2 separate regions of the Homo sapiens genome follow, and region 1 is linked to region 2. The links are contacts of gene promoters, found by promoter capture Hi-C in human tissues and cell types (Jung and others, 2019). All regions are on one chromosome and are shown on one strand. Each heading gives the region's core, a stretch centred on a gene start or on the middle of the fragment in contact. The rest is flanking DNA. Distances are from core to core; before and after follow the strand shown. Region 1 overlaps ZBTB1 (zinc finger and BTB domain containing 1). Region 2 holds the start of CHURC1-FNTB (CHURC1-FNTB readthrough).

What was found. The method cuts DNA at HindIII sites, captures the fragments that hold promoters and counts their contacts. A contact is called where the count stands out against the background at its distance.
Region 1: a contact is called between a fragment that was not itself captured here and the fragment with the promoter of CHURC1-FNTB in region 2, in 1 of the 25 tissues and cell types used here (heart left ventricle).

What each region holds. Positions count from the first base shown.
Region 1 is chr14:64,512,994-64,515,693 of GRCh38, reverse strand. All of the region lies in intron 1 of ZBTB1 (zinc finger and BTB domain containing 1), which reads right to left. It overlaps HSPA2-AS1 (HSPA2 and ZBTB1 antisense RNA 1), which reads left to right. Exons shown (of 4, transcript NR_110550.1): 4 at 1,313-1,543. Among named protein-coding and RNA genes, the nearest start is that of ZBTB1, 9.6 kb to the right of the region's middle. The HindIII fragment of the contact is 3,390 bases long and covers 1-2,700 here.
Region 2 is chr14:64,913,071-64,915,770 of GRCh38, reverse strand. It overlaps CHURC1-FNTB (CHURC1-FNTB readthrough), which reads right to left and starts at 1,410. Exons shown (of 14, transcript NM_001202559.1): 1 at 1,237-1,410. The coding sequence starts at 1,356. CHURC1 (churchill domain containing 1) reads right to left here and starts at 1,316. Exons shown (of 4, transcript NM_001386928.1): 1 at 1,237-1,316. The coding sequence starts at 1,275. RefSeq lists enhancers at 1,047-1,316, 1,467-1,516. The HindIII fragment of the contact is 18,830 bases long and covers 1-2,700 here.

The DNA of each region.
Region 1 (2,700 bases), core at 25-2,524, 400 kb after region 2:
AAAAAATTAGCCGGGCGTGGTGGCAGGCACCTGTATTCCCAGCTACTTGGGAGGCTGAGGCGGGAGAATGGCGGGAACTCGGGAGGCGGAGCTTACAGTGAGCCAAGACTGTGCCACTGCACTCCAGCCTGGGCGACAGAGCAAGACTCCATCTCAAAAAAAAAAAAAAAAAATTATGAGGCATTCACTTTCATTAAATTATAATTTCACTCAAATTCCAAGAGGAGTTTGCTCTTTTTTCATTTTTTTGACCTCTTTATTAATGCTGCCAAAAAAAGTTAATGAACTTTATGTTCTAGTAAAGCCTATAAAAGGTTTTAAGTAAATGGACAGCTTGTATTTCAGCTGTTCTTGTTTTTACGACTGAAATCTGTGATTGCTTTTGTTTGTACTACTAGCTGCATCACTGGTAGGACAAGTTTAGCACAACTAGAAGTCAAGGGCTCAGGTCTGAGAGCAGAACCTCCAATGTGACTCAAAGGACTTAATGTCATTTGGATAAGGAAAACAAGCTATATAATGCCAAGAGTTACACTAAGGCTAGAAGGATACCCACTGTGCAGAACTCTAGCAAGAATTAAGGAGTTAGGTGATCCAAAAAGTTTTATACTGGATTTTTAAAATTTTAGTCTGAAAAAGTTTAACGGCTCATCTCAAGTTTAAAAACAGTCACCAAGCACATTAAGCATATTAAGTAATTTAATCATACATTTTTAGAGCTTAGAGAGATCTAATCTAGTCTAACATTCTTATTCCATAGAAGGCAAAGATACATGGTTTTTAATGTATCAGGGTATAGTTAACTGTGCTGAAGCACATACTAGGACTAAGGACTCCTGACCACCCAGATAGTAATAACCTCTATATATGGCACTTCCTTGGTACTATACAGTATGGTCTTCCGGAAAGAACACTAAACAAGGACAGGGCATGAGTCCTTAATACAGGGTTTGTTGGTTGGATGCTATTGAGCAAGTGATTACCCCAATCTGAATTCTTTATCTGTAATGTGGCTTTATCCATACATGTCAATCTAGTCTTATTCAATAGATGTGTTCCCTAAGTTATACTGTGTAAGCTATTTCAGTAAATTTCTCACTGACATAGTAAGATTTCAGAAATATTTTTCCTCCATTGCTAGATCTCTCAAATTGGAAATAACAGTTTTGCTGGAAGTTTCTCTTGCTCCAGCCTTGGTAAATGATAATTTAAGGGTCTATAAATAAGCATATCCAATGAATAAAGAAGTAACTTAAAGGAATTTTAAAGTGTTTCTGTGAGGCAAATAATCACCCTCTAAATTGTGTCACAGACTTGCAGCACCAATGAGGCATTTGAAGATGATTCGCTTAGCCTCAGTGAAAGTCTAGAGAGCCTAGCATCACAGTCCCAATTCAGCACCCCAATCTCTGACTTACAATTACCTCTGGATCTCAAGGAAGATTTATGTATATATGTTTCCTTTTACCTATTTCTATGTCTTATAGGTTGAATGTATGTATGCATATGGATTTGAGGATTACAGAGTATTTTAAAAGTCTAAAATGTAATGAAAGGATTCTTACATTTTAACATCAGAATATCAGAATCTATTGAATACTCATAATGTTCCTAACACTGGATAGAGCATTGAAATGGAGGGTGGAGAAGGATGGTGTACAATAGAGATAACTGTATATGAGGGATTAAATTTGAAACCAAGAAACAATTTGAGGAGTTTAATAAACTATATTGAGGCCGGTGCGGTGGCTCATACCTGTAATCCCAGCACTTTGGGAGGCTGAGGTGGGTGGATCACCTGAGGTCAGGAGTTCAAGACCAGCCTGACCAACATGGTGAAACTCTGTCTCTACAAAAATACAAAAATCAGCCGGGCATGATAGTGGATGCCTGTAATCCCAGCTACTTGGGGGGCTGAGGCAGGAGAATCGCTTGAACCTGGAGGCAGAGGTTGCAGTGAACTGAGATTGAGCCACTGCACTCCAGCCTGGGCAACAGAGCAAGACTCCATCTCAAACATAAAAATAAAAATAAAAATAAACTATATTGAATAAAGTTCAGCAAGAGTTTAGAAGAAAAGCGTTAATTATACCAAAATAGTAGGCTTTAGGAAGGATGTAGGATTTGAGTAAAGCCTTGATGAATGAGTAGGATAAACAGAAAGCAAGGGTGAGGCATTTCGAGTATTTATATAGATGTGTATGTAAATAATTGAGGAGGGTACACAGCAGCTTGGCTGGAAATGTAACAGGACAGAAGGTAGATTTGCTTTACTGGACTGGTAGATGAAGGTTATCAAAGTAGAGTAAATGACAACTGTAATACAATAATAATATGAATAGCTAACATTTGTTATGTCTCACTATATGCCAGGCTCTATTCCAGGCAGATGTATAGGGAGATGTATATATATCTCTCACAGATACATTACACATATACACATATGGATATATATGGATATATGCAATATATATGTGTGAGATATGCACACATATATTGCATATATACATGTATGTATATACATGTATGTGTGTATGTGTGCATATCTGTGTATGTATCCATATATAGGTATCATTTTATGTGTATGTATGCATATATAAGTATCATTTTAGCATTTAATCCTCGTAACAAACCCTACAAAGTAGATGCTGCTATAAGACTCATTTTCAAGATTAAATAACAGAGGCATACAGTGTTATA
Region 2 (2,700 bases), core at 161-2,660:
GAAGCATATACACATGCATTTTTCTAGAATGGGAATCACTGGGTCATGTCTGTATTTTATAAGGCTCACCCGCTTTTTCAAAGTAGTTGTACTACAGGAGAATTCATACTGTTATACATGCTACTCAAAAGCCTAAGTATTACCCATAAGATACTAAGACATAAGGAACTACAGAGACTTTCTCCCTCCTTCCCAACCAATGCACAAATTCCATTTCTGTAATTTTCCCCCATCCTCCAGCTCCTCACCTTCTTTTCTACCCTAATTACAACTGTCCTTCAAGTCTTAGATGATGTCCACCTTTTCTCAGGGGAGAACAGCACTATCCCCTATTGCCCTCCCCTTTCCCTAAACTTGAATAGCATTTCTGAACTGAGCTACTCATTTTTTGTTAGTCACATACTCCCCAAAACTGTAAGCTGTTAGGCAGCACCAAAGGTGCCTTTTAATTTCTTCTCTGAAACAAATAATCCAGCTGGACGTGGTGGCTCATGCCAGTAATCCCAGCACTTTCGGAGGCCAAGGCGGGAGGATCACTTGATCCCAGGAATTTGAGACCAGCCTGGGCAACAGCAGCACCCTGTCTCAAAGAGAGGAGAAATAATCCCTTTCTGGCCTAGCAAAGTAATCTAACTACACATATATAAATGTTCAACAAGGATGCCTTGAATGAATGAGAATAGACAAGCTTTGCAAACTCCTGAACCTGAAAGTAACTGAGATTCAGAAGGCGGTAACAGGCAGGAAACCTAAATTCTAGTCCTGGCTCTCATCCATGCAACTAGAATGTGAACTTGGGCAAGTGATTTCCCCTCTCTGGGCATCGGTTTCTTCATCTGCAAAAGTGTTAGAACAGATGACCACAGAGGTCCCCTCCAGCGCTAGAATTCGGTAAGAAAATTGTACTTCATCAAATCGAGCTTGAGGATGAGACCGGAAGTGGGGGTGGGGGAGTCCCTCGGTTGTCGACGGGGGTTGTGGTGGTGGTGGGGTTCCTCTGTTGCTCCTTGGAGCTCAAGAGAACGGCCACTACAACTGAGGTCAGCCGCCAGGGCGGGTACCAGAGGTGCAGACCGCCACAGGCCATCCCTGGTGTGCCTAAATACCGCTACTGGGTCACCGGGACCGGCAGTGCGGCCGAGTCCGCCCCACGTACGGCCTCTCTGGGAAGGCCAGCCTTGGATATGAGACACCTCGGGGGCCGCCCGCGGGCCAAGGGAGCGCCCAGTCGCTCACCCGGTTGGGATATTCCTTCTCCACACAGTCGCCACACATCGCGACGCAGTCAACAGGGAATGTCCTCCAACGCTTCCGGGAAGACGAAACCTCGCGAGAACTGAGATACGGTTGCCGCATGCGCCCAAGTACTCGACTCCTGGGTATTCCGTCTCGGGAACCGAGCCGAAGTCTCCGCCCCTTAGCAACTGTTGTCAAGGCAGGGCACAGTCTCCTTGGCACCGTGCGTGGGCAAAGGGTGGGGCTTCAGAAACCTTTGGAGACAGACGAAGAAATCTTGTGCGCTAACAGATGTGACGGGAAGGGAAAGGGATCTTGGGCTGAGCGAAGTTCTCACAGACACCTTCCTGAGCTTAGGCTGACAAGAAAGGCAAATCACGACACACAAGAAAGGGAATTATTTCTCGCTACCGCATATACAAATCTGAAATGTTAATGAATACATTTCTGTACCATTTCTTAAGGCAATGAGAGTGAATAAGAGACCAGATCTCAGCAGGTGAATAAACAGTAACCGAAGTGTTTGGGAAGAGACACTCAGAGTGCTGCAGAAAATCTCCTAAAAAAACACTTAAAATATTAGTAATAATTGGTCATTCCAGAGTCCTCTGGAGGACATAGCAACGAGGAACGTATTTCTATCTCTCTCAGGTGTCACAGAAGCACCTCAGTGGCGGGCAAGCACTATGTAAATAGAAAAATGGCCAGGTCATCAGCCATCCCATTACTGGGTATATACCCAAAGGATTATAAATCATGCTGCTATAAAGACACATGCACATGTATGTTTATTGTGGCACTATTCAGAATACCAAAGACTTGGAACCAATGCAAATGTCCATCAATGATAGACTGGATTAAGAAAATGTGGCACATATATACCATGGAATACTATGCAGCCATAAAAAAGGATGAGTTCATGTCCTTTGTAGGGACACGGATGAAGCTGGAAACCGTCATTCTGAGCAAACTATCGCAAGGACAGAAAACCAAACACCGCATGTTCTCACTCATAGGTGGGAATTGAACAATGAGAACACTTGGACACAGGGTGGGGAACACCACACACCGGGGCCTGTCGTGGGGTGGGGGGAGGGGGGAGGGATAGCATTAGGAGATATACTTAATGTAAATGACGAGTTAATGTGTGCAGCACACCAACATGGCATATCTATACATAGGTAACAAATCTGCACGTTGTGCACATGTACCCTAGAACTTAAAGTATATTAAAAATAAATAGATTTCAAAAATTATCTAATTGAATTGACTGCAGATATTTTGATTTCAGATTTGCACATCCATTTATAAATGACCTATTGGTTCACAGATTAAAAAACCAATAAACATATGTGCTTCCAAGAAAAGAAAGAAAGAAAGAAAAATGGCCAGGTCAGTTGTTCCTGCATCATTTCCCAATCCTGTGGGTCTCAAAATGCTTGTGCTTGTTGCCCCGCCTCATCC